2 separate regions of the Homo sapiens genome follow, and region 1 is linked to region 2. Evidence: promoter capture Hi-C in 16 types of primary human blood cells and fetal thymus (Javierre and others, 2016). All regions are on one chromosome and are shown on one strand. The core of a region is centred on a gene start or on the middle of the fragment in contact, and the rest is flanking DNA. Distances in the headings are between cores, read along the strand shown.

Region 1 (4,731 bases), core at 282-2,781, 1.2 Mb after region 2:
ACGGATCATCACATTTAATCCTCCCAGCTCTTCTAAGAAGGTGGGATACTTTCACTTTAGAGATTGGAATATCATGGGTTAAATAACTTGCTCAACATTACGTGGCTAGTGTACCAGGCTGCTTCCTGGTAATTTACATGAATTGTTAGTCAAGTATTTGTTGCATCCACCCATTGCTCTCAAATTTTAACATAGGTACAAATTTCATTGCCCTAGTTTGTTATACAGTAGGTATCTAGGGGAAAAATGCTTTCCATTACTTGTATTTTTTCCAGAGTAAGCACTTAAATAACTTGATAAGGTGTTAACCTTAAAAGAGTGGCACCACAAAATTTAAATTTATTACATTTCATTATCATTACAAATGAGATTTTTTAAAAAGCCCTGGCTCATCCTTTTAGGTTGTAATTTACTTTTTGTTTCATTACAAAATTTTTCACTAATTTCTACTATTTGAGGGTTAGAATGAAGCAAATTTCTCTGTAGTTAGACATTCGTGTAGTTAACTTGTGATTGATCATCTTCCACACCATATCACATAAATTGGTTTCTATTGGAAAAGAAACAATTCTGAAGCAGTTAAACCTTGAGAGATAATACAGCTGGTGTTGACTAAGGCCTTGATAAGTGCTGGAAATTTTGCATAACTCGGAATAAACTTACCTGTTCTGAGGACTTGATAGTACTTTTCATACATTTTGCAAAATAAGCCTGTTATCTCGACCATTTTGTAAATGCCTCATAAGAAGCCAGGCGCTGTGGCTCACACCTGTAATTCCAGCACTTCGGGAGGCCAAGGTGGGAGGATCGCAACAGCCCAGGAGTTTGAGACCAGCCTGGGCAACATGGCGAGGCCCTGGCTTTATGAAAAATGAAAAAACTTAGCTGGGTGTGGTGGTGCCCACCTGCAGACCCAGCTACTCGGAAGGCTGAGGTGGGAGGATCACTTGAGCTTGGGAGGTCGAGGCTGCAGTGAGCTATGATCACTCTAGTCTAGGCCTGTCGTTCATGCATTTATTCATTTATAAACCAATAAATAAAGAGAGAGTACTAGATATTTGAACCCCTAAATAATTCTATTATTGATACTTTTGGGTTCTTAAAGACTTTCAATTATATTTTCTTTAAGACTTCCCTGGCTTTTTGTAACCTTTCAGAGTACATCACTTCATTCCACTAAATGTTACACTGTTATTTTACTCAGTCCTTTCTCAGTGAAGCTTCTAGAACTACAGTGGTCCCTTGGTATACAGGAGATTAGTTCCAGGACCCCTGAACTAATGCACATACCAATATGCACACATAGTCAAGTCCACAGTCAGCCCTGTGGAACCCACATATATGAAAAATCAGCCCCTCCCTATACGGAGGTCTTTACATCCTGTGAATACTGTATTTTCCAGCGGCATTTGGTTGAAAAACTTTCTCATATAAATGGATCTGTTGTTCAGGGTCAACTATAATCTAAATTTATGGTTTATTTTCTCATTCTTTCCTTAAACTCCAGAAAACTGGTCTCATTTTTATTCTGAAACTGCTCTTGAAAATGCCACAAGAAAACAACACCAACACAAAAACGCCGCAAGACATACGGCTATTTTTCAACTCTAGTTCGTTGAATTTCTCTGTAGCATCTGGAATTGTGCATTACTGAGCTCTGGAGCCAGATGGCCCTAGGTTTATTCCAGCTCCCCCGCTTACTAACTATATGGATATGGGCAAGTCTTCTCAACTATCCTGGCTTCATACTCTTTACATGTGAAAAGAGGGTTAATAGTAGTACTCATGTTGCTCTCAATAAACAGTAATAACAGTAATAAATTACCATTCTTACTACCAACCCTAAGCTTCCACAACACTGTTCTCTAGGTGTCCCTCTTACTCTGTGACCCTGCTCCATCTATCCCTTAACTGATTAATCCTTAAGATTCCATCCTTGGTCCACTGCCCCTTTCCTCCCTTTTTGGATGGTTTAATTTGGAATCATTTTTCTGATGAAATGTTTCAATGCAAAAATCAGTGGATGTTGATCATTCCCAGACTTCTATCTCCAGGCATTTTCTGGAGTTTCAGACTGAAATCATTTCCCCCAGCCCACCTTTCCCCCTTCTTCTAATTTCGATTTCAATTGGTAGTTCATCATCTACTCAATCACAAACCAAAAAAACCAAAAACCAAGGTTCATACTACATTTCTTGTTCTAATATACTCCTATAATATTTGCCTCCGACATAATTCTCAAATCTGCCCCTTCTATACCCTTACTATGTCTACCACATTAATTTAAGCTCTACGCTTCTGATTCCAACCTTTGCCCTCCTCCTTGAGTCTATCCCCTACTCTTGAGCCAATAATTTACACAGAGCCAAACTTGAATATGCCGTGTTATTGGTATACTACCGTACACAAAGTAGCTCCAAGTTACTCAGGACGGCATGGAGAGCCCTCTATTACCTGACCCCTGCAATCTTTCCAATTTCTGCCAATTTCCACCCCATATAAGCAATACAGAAACACCATGCTCTCCTAGTACCCACACATAATTTTCATTATTATTTATGCTACAATTACCTATGTTTCTGGCTCTGTCACTCAGTCCATGCTGAGACATTTCTCAAGCCATGGACTTTCTACCTCAGCCCAGCACAGTGCTAGAATATAGCAGACACTCATTTTTACTGAACTGAACTACAGGCCTTTCTTCTTCTTTTTTTTTTTTTTTCCCTGAGATGGAGTTTCCCTCTGTTGCCCAGGCTGGAGAGCAGAGGTGCAATCTCGGCTCACTGCAACCTCTGCCTCCCGGGTTCAAGCCATTCTCCTGCCCCAGCCTCCCAAGTAGCTGGGATTACAGGCGTCCGCCACCAAACACAGCTAAGTTTTGCATTTTTAGTAGAGACGGGGTTTCACCATGTTGGCCAGGCTGGTCTTGAACTCCCGACCTCAGATGATCCGCCCACCTTGGCCTCCCAAAGTGCTGGGACTACAGGCTGAGTCACCGTGCCTGGCCAGGCCTTTTTTCTTCTTGAAAAAATTATAACTCAATTTAACAAATACCAATCATTTTAAGAGGTTTTTTTCTCCCCGACCCAAATTCCTAGGAAACATTTTTTTTTTCTTCCCTATCTATTTCTGCCCCCGGCCTCTTTATTACATTTAGTGGGCAGGGAATGATTTACTGTGGAAGTTCTCATACCAACAGTTATGTTTACTCCAACTTATAACCGCACATCTGCAGGTGACTAAAATTGTGCAAGCGGAAAGTGAGTTCAAACACTGACATGCATACCTGTTTGAATCAGTGATTTGAACCCTAGGAATACATTAGTGTATACAAATATGGAAACCACAGGGAAAAAAAAAGCATTTCTAGTTATTACTATGATAATGAAGAATGAGAAAAACAAGAAAAACAGGAAAATAAGAAGTCATAAAATGCTAAGTATTCTGTGATGAATGTACTTTTTCATTCAGGTAAACTCATTTTTTTATTTAGGTAAAATACAAATAAATACCTAAATTTTATTTAGGTAACCCTCTCTGTTAAAAAACAAATGGATCAAATGCTATCCAAATTACCTAAAGTGGGAGGCGGGGGTATGATTAAATAATATAAACATATTTAAAAACTATTTTCAAAAGGATGTAATATAGGTAGACAAAGTATCCAGAAAGATACAATGGGCACAACCTAAAAATATTTAAGTCTAAGGATGGAGGTAATCTGGGCACTGGGAAATCAATTAAGTATATATAGAAATGATTCAAATGCCTTCCCTCAGCAAGAATTTGCCTATTCTATGTCTACCACAGTTGGACACTAGATTAGTTTGGATCTACAGCAAGAAATAAAAATGATAGTGGTATATCTTTAATAGTTTTCATAGAGAATACTGACATCCTATTCTAGTTCCTAGTAGTAGGAGGAAACAGAACATTAACTAAAGGTACTGTCTGTCTCACTGTATCCGTTTTAAGAGATAACAGTTTAAGATATCATGTTAAAAATTCTCTCCTAATATTTTTCGCTTGTTTCTCCAAGAAATTCTCATATGCCCTATATTCCAGTAAATCATTATTTACAAGTTAAGGTTAAGAATGCATATAAGATCAAAAGATACTCTCTATACAAAACCTAAGAACTTTAATATAACAATAAAACTAACTGGTGGTTTGAAATATCCTGTTTCTAGAGAACTTGATCTATGTTCAAGAGAAAAAACTCAATTCTTTTATGGTTTCAGAATGGGGAGAGGCGGGGGAGGAACAGCAAACGCTGGTAAGGTTCCAGAGAAAAGGGAACACTTATACACTGTTGGTGGGAGTGCAAATTAGTTCAACCATTGTGGAAATCAGTATGGCGATTCTTCAAAGAGCTAAAAGCAGAACTACCATTCGGCCCAGCAATCCCATTACTGGGTATACATCCAGAGGAATATAAATCACTCTACCATAAAGACACATGCACGCATATATTCACTGCAGCACTATTCACAATAGGAAAGACACGGAATCAACCTAAATGCCCATCAATGACCAACTGGATAAAGAAAATGTGGTACATGTACACACCATAAAATACCATATAGCCATAAAAAAGAATGAGATCCTGTCTTTTGCAGGAACAAGGCTGGAACTGGAGGCCATTATCCTTAGCAAACTGACACAGGAACAGAAAACCAAATACCACATATTCTCACTTATAAGTGGGAGCTAAATGATGAAGACGCATGA
Region 2 (4,484 bases), core at 34-2,533:
CCCCAAGAAGAGAGGAATACAGTCAAATCTCTAAGTGTTTCAGATGTAGCCTGATGGCTAATAGTTTAAGATGTAGTTCAGGTAATCCATGAAGATTTCCTGAAGGAAGTTCGCATGAATGTGAGAGGGCAATTAACTTTTATAATTTTTATTGAGCACGTAGTATATACTTGTCAGATGCTCTTCTACACATTTTACAAATGATTCTTAATCCTCACAACAGATCTTTGATTAGGTTTTTAAGGAAAACTAGTTCTTTCCAAAATAACCTAATGATCACAAAACATATAGAACATACAACTCTGCATCTTGACTATGGTGCGTAGGTCTACATGTGATAAAATGACATTGAACTATACACACATCATACAACTATCAAATCCCTCCTTTTGAGATTGTACTAGAATTATGTAATATGCAACCATTGGGGGAAACTGGGTAAAGAGTAAATTGGATCTCTCTGTACTATCTTTGAGTAGTGTTTAGGTATTTTATAAAAATAATGTCCTACAGTTTGGGTTTGTCAAATGGTTTTCTCATAGTTAGATAGGGGTTATGGCTTTTGGAGAGAAAGACCACAGAGGTCTGTAGTATATTTTCAACTGTAATCTATTTCAAAATAAAAAGTTTTAAAAAAATTCTCCAAGGGGGGATGATTAGTAAATTGATTAGTCCTTTCTAGACCTCCAACACACCCCACCACACACTCACACAGACCCACACTCCTATTAATTCCGGTAACTCGGGTTGTTTGGAATGTGGATAGAGAAACTAAGCTTAACTATGCGCTTCCAGCACCTCGTATCTGGTACTTCTGTTCAACAGAAAGCCTTGGGAATGGGGAGGGCAGGCGTGGTAAAAGGTACAGGTTTGGGAAGGTCGCTCGGTTCCTTCCAATCCAAACGAGAGGCTTCTGATTGTTTATTCTCACACCAGAGCCGTGACCGAGACCCAGAGGTCCGCTTCCGGCCACGGCCGAACAGCTGCACCGTGCGTACCGGGAACGGTCAAGGCGCAGCTGGAACCGCTGCAAAAGGCCTCCGGGCGTACCGGACAGGTCGCAAGGGCGGGGGTCCCCACCTAGCGGAAATGCACGGAGGCCAACCCCTCCCCCTGCCCCCGCGAGGAGCGGGGCGGACTCGGCAGCCGCCACTCCCCAGGCTCACAGGAAGAAACTGGGACGCTGCGGACGCGGAACTGGCCAGACCCGCGGCGCGTGGCACGCGCGAGCCCTCCCGCGCATGCTCCACCCGCCGGCCTCCAGCCCGCGCCCCGGGCCCCGCCTCCCTCCCTGCTTCTCCCCCTCTCCCGTCAGCCTCCCTCCGAGTTTGGCCCCTCCGGCCGGGCGATCGACGTTCCGCGTGCGTGCGGGCGCCTGACTTCACTTCCGGCTAACGCGCTCGGCTTGCCCCCTGGCCCCGGATGGTGACTGGTGGTGGTGCTGCACCTCCCGGGACTGTCACTGAGCCGCTTCCCAGTGTGATTGTGCTGAGCGCAGGCCGGAAGATGGCGGCTGCGGCTGCGGCGGCCTCGGGCCCCGGCTGCTCCTCGGCGGCGGGGGCGGGGGCGGCCGGGGTCTCAGAGTGGCTGGTGCTGCGGGACGGCTGCATGCACTGCGACGCCGACGGGCTGCACAGCCTGTCCTACCACCCTGCGCTCAACGCCATCCTGGCCGTCACTAGCCGCGGGACCATCAAAGTCATCGACGGCACCTCGGGGGCCACACTGCAGGCCTCCGCGCTCAGTGGTGAGTCTTCCGCACGCCGGGCGGGCGCGAAGCCGGGGAAAGAAGCCGTCCAGCCCCGGGGCTCGGCCTCGCGACTCGGGGAAGCGAGATGGCGAGAGGGCAGGGCTGGGGGTTCGGGCCCAGCCGTGAAGGGAGGCCCGGAAGCTGATGGAGGGGGACCTTAGGACTTGGCTTTTTCAGCGGCTGCAGTTGGGAGGAAAGACCGGCGAGTCAGGGAGTGGTGGGAGGGGAGTTGCCTTTCGGGCCTGGAGCGTCCGGTCTGGCTTGGTCCTCCGCGAGAGGTGAGGAGACCTTGGAGCTTGGCACCGGAGGAAGCGAGGCCCGGGTAGGCCCTGGAGAGGCTGTCGGTCCTGCGTCCGGTTAGATGAGAGCGAAAGGCTGGAAGGGTTGACCCCGGGCGGAGAGGCTGGTGGCCGGAGGCGAGGGGCGGGGAGCGTCTGAGCCGGCAACCAAGCCCTCCCTTGTGGGAGAGGAGCCGGCAGTCTGCTGTTCTCAGGTCCCGCAGTGCGGGGGACAGACCGCGGGCTGTGCGCCCAGCGTGGGGGTGGGGGTGGGGTGGGGGTGGGGTGGGTCGTGGTGGGGGTGGGGAGGGAAGTAGGCGGGCCAGCTGCCTGAACTGCTTGGTCGACGACTGTAGGACTCTGCGGACGCCGAAGACGACTAGACCTGGTCCCCTTGCTCGGGGCTTCCAACTTCTACGCCCCAGTGACGAGAAAGTCAGGACCTGTGGTGTATGAAATAGATTCCTTTGGGTTTGTAACTTCAGGCTGTCTCTACTTGTTTTCCCACAGCGAGCCGAAAATTAGGATTTGAAGGTGTGTCTGAGTCTCACCATTGGAGGAGAGCACTTCTGGGTGGCGTAAACCTTGGTCCAGGGACGGGACTTTCAGATGCGTGAGGTGTATGCTCAGTGGACGGACTGGAGTGGTTTTGGAATGGCCCTGGCTGAGTTAGATTTGGCGGAGATGACATTTCATTTGTGGTTAAATGATGGGTGGCTTAATTTGGATGTTGTAGGTTTAGATTGAAAAGTTAGTGTATGAGTGAATCGGACTCCTGCATAGAGATGTAATGTATACAACTGTCTGCGTTTAGCCAAGTGGAAGTAGTTATGTGGTCAACCAATTCACTTGTATTTTAACGTAGACGAACAAGGAAAAGTTTACTATGTGAGTAATAAGGCATTTGTAAGAGTAAATGGCAATTTAGGGATGCAAACGTGAAATTAGACATGTTAATTATTGTTGATGTGAGAGTTGTGAAAGAATTGGATTATGTATAGTTTCAGGATATAAACTTGGAACATATCTAAGAGAAAGTTTTGGGAGGTAGGTTTGTAATTTTTTCTTTTCTTGGCTTAGGTAAATGATGGGGTGGCCCAGATGTAGCAGTGAACAGTTACTGCAACTTGGACATAATGGCTTCTCACTGTGTGTAAGAGGGAGATGCTCATTGGTAATTGGATGTCTTTCTTTTTAAAAGTCATTTAAAAGTATTTCAAGTATGAAAAGGTATGAAGAGTAATTACAGTGAACACCATGCATCCCCAACTCAGGTTAAGAAATAAAACTTTACAAATAGGATTAAAATCTCAGCTGAATCTCTCCTGGACTGCATTTCTCCAATCCTCCCTCTTCATAAACGTTATCTTTAATTTGATTTTATCCTTTTCATATATGTCTACACTTTCTAGTATATGTTTCTATCTTGAGGATGTAGTATTTTTGTGATTTTTAACTTGGAATAAGTGGTATATGTACTAGGATTTCTAAAGAAAGTCATTAACAAAAGTATTCAAGTGTTTTGGATAGAAAGAGGAATTTTATGGTGTGCTTTTTATGTCTGGAGGCCATGTTTGAGAATAATAATGTGTGTCAGGATTTGTTGGTTGGGGAAATTGGACATATATTTATGTGCCTGTACATGGAAGGAAAGACAATATTCACTTTAGTGGTAGATTACTAAAGAGGAGGGTTTTAGATGTATAACATGAAGGTGTAGGTAGATAAGTAAAATGTAGCATTGATTTGGGATAACAGGTTTTGTTGGGGCATCTGTTGATTAGAAGAGTTCGGGATTGGATACAATTGCAGGTCCCCATGCATGAAGATTGAGTATGTGAATTAAAATATGTAGAAGGGTTTATAGTGAACGGAATGAAGGATTACAGAAAAAATTTGGAAGTTAACAATGGATGCATTCTGAAACATTTTCATATATGAGAAGTGAAATTTATTATTATTTGTAAAATTTATTCGTATTTGTAGAGATGGGGTTTTGCTGTGTTGCCCAGGCTGGTCTTGAACTTCCGGCCTCAAATGATCCTCCCACCTCAGCCTCCCAAAGTGCTGGTATTACAGGCATGAGCTGTCCCACCTGGCCAGAAGTTTGTTATTAATAATAATTATCAGAGGTTGTATAGGGTCCTATTTGCCCCAGTTCAGATGATTGAGGAGGGAATGCTGCATTTTATGTTTTACTTAGAATCTGCAGGTATTTAGTAAGTTTGCTTTTAATGATTAATAGAGGGTGACAGCCCTATAAATAGAGTAGAGAGAAGATGCCAGTAGCGATCATGGTCCTAACATAATCCCTCTTTCCCGTTTATGGGCAATGGGCCACTTTCTTTTCTACCACAGAGGAAAGACATCTGTGTCTGAGGGGATAAAGACTAGGTGATACAGTAATAGGTCTTATGGACGCCTGGGGTTCAGTTTATAGGGTTATGGGTTGCCTG

What was found. Contacts are between HindIII fragments. The CHiCAGO score rates a contact against its expected background, and 5 or more counts as called.
Region 1: a contact is called between a fragment that was not itself captured here and the fragment with the promoter of BIRC6 in region 2, in 1 of 17 cell types (total B cells). The highest score is 5.1, in total B cells.

The regions. Positions count from the first base shown.
Region 1 is chr2:33,577,772-33,582,502 of GRCh38, forward strand. No RefSeq gene overlaps it. Among named protein-coding and RNA genes, the nearest start is that of RASGRP3-AS1, 11 kb to the left of the region's middle. The HindIII fragment of the contact is 627 bases long and covers 1,219-1,845 here.
Region 2 is chr2:32,355,740-32,360,223 of GRCh38, forward strand. BIRC6 (baculoviral IAP repeat containing 6) reads left to right here and starts at 1,284. Exons shown (of 74, transcript NM_016252.4): 1 at 1,284-1,747. The coding sequence starts at 1,423. RefSeq lists enhancers at 955-1,467, 1,982-2,494 and silencers at 971-1,340, 1,501-1,730. The HindIII fragment of the contact is 6,861 bases long and covers 775-4,484 here.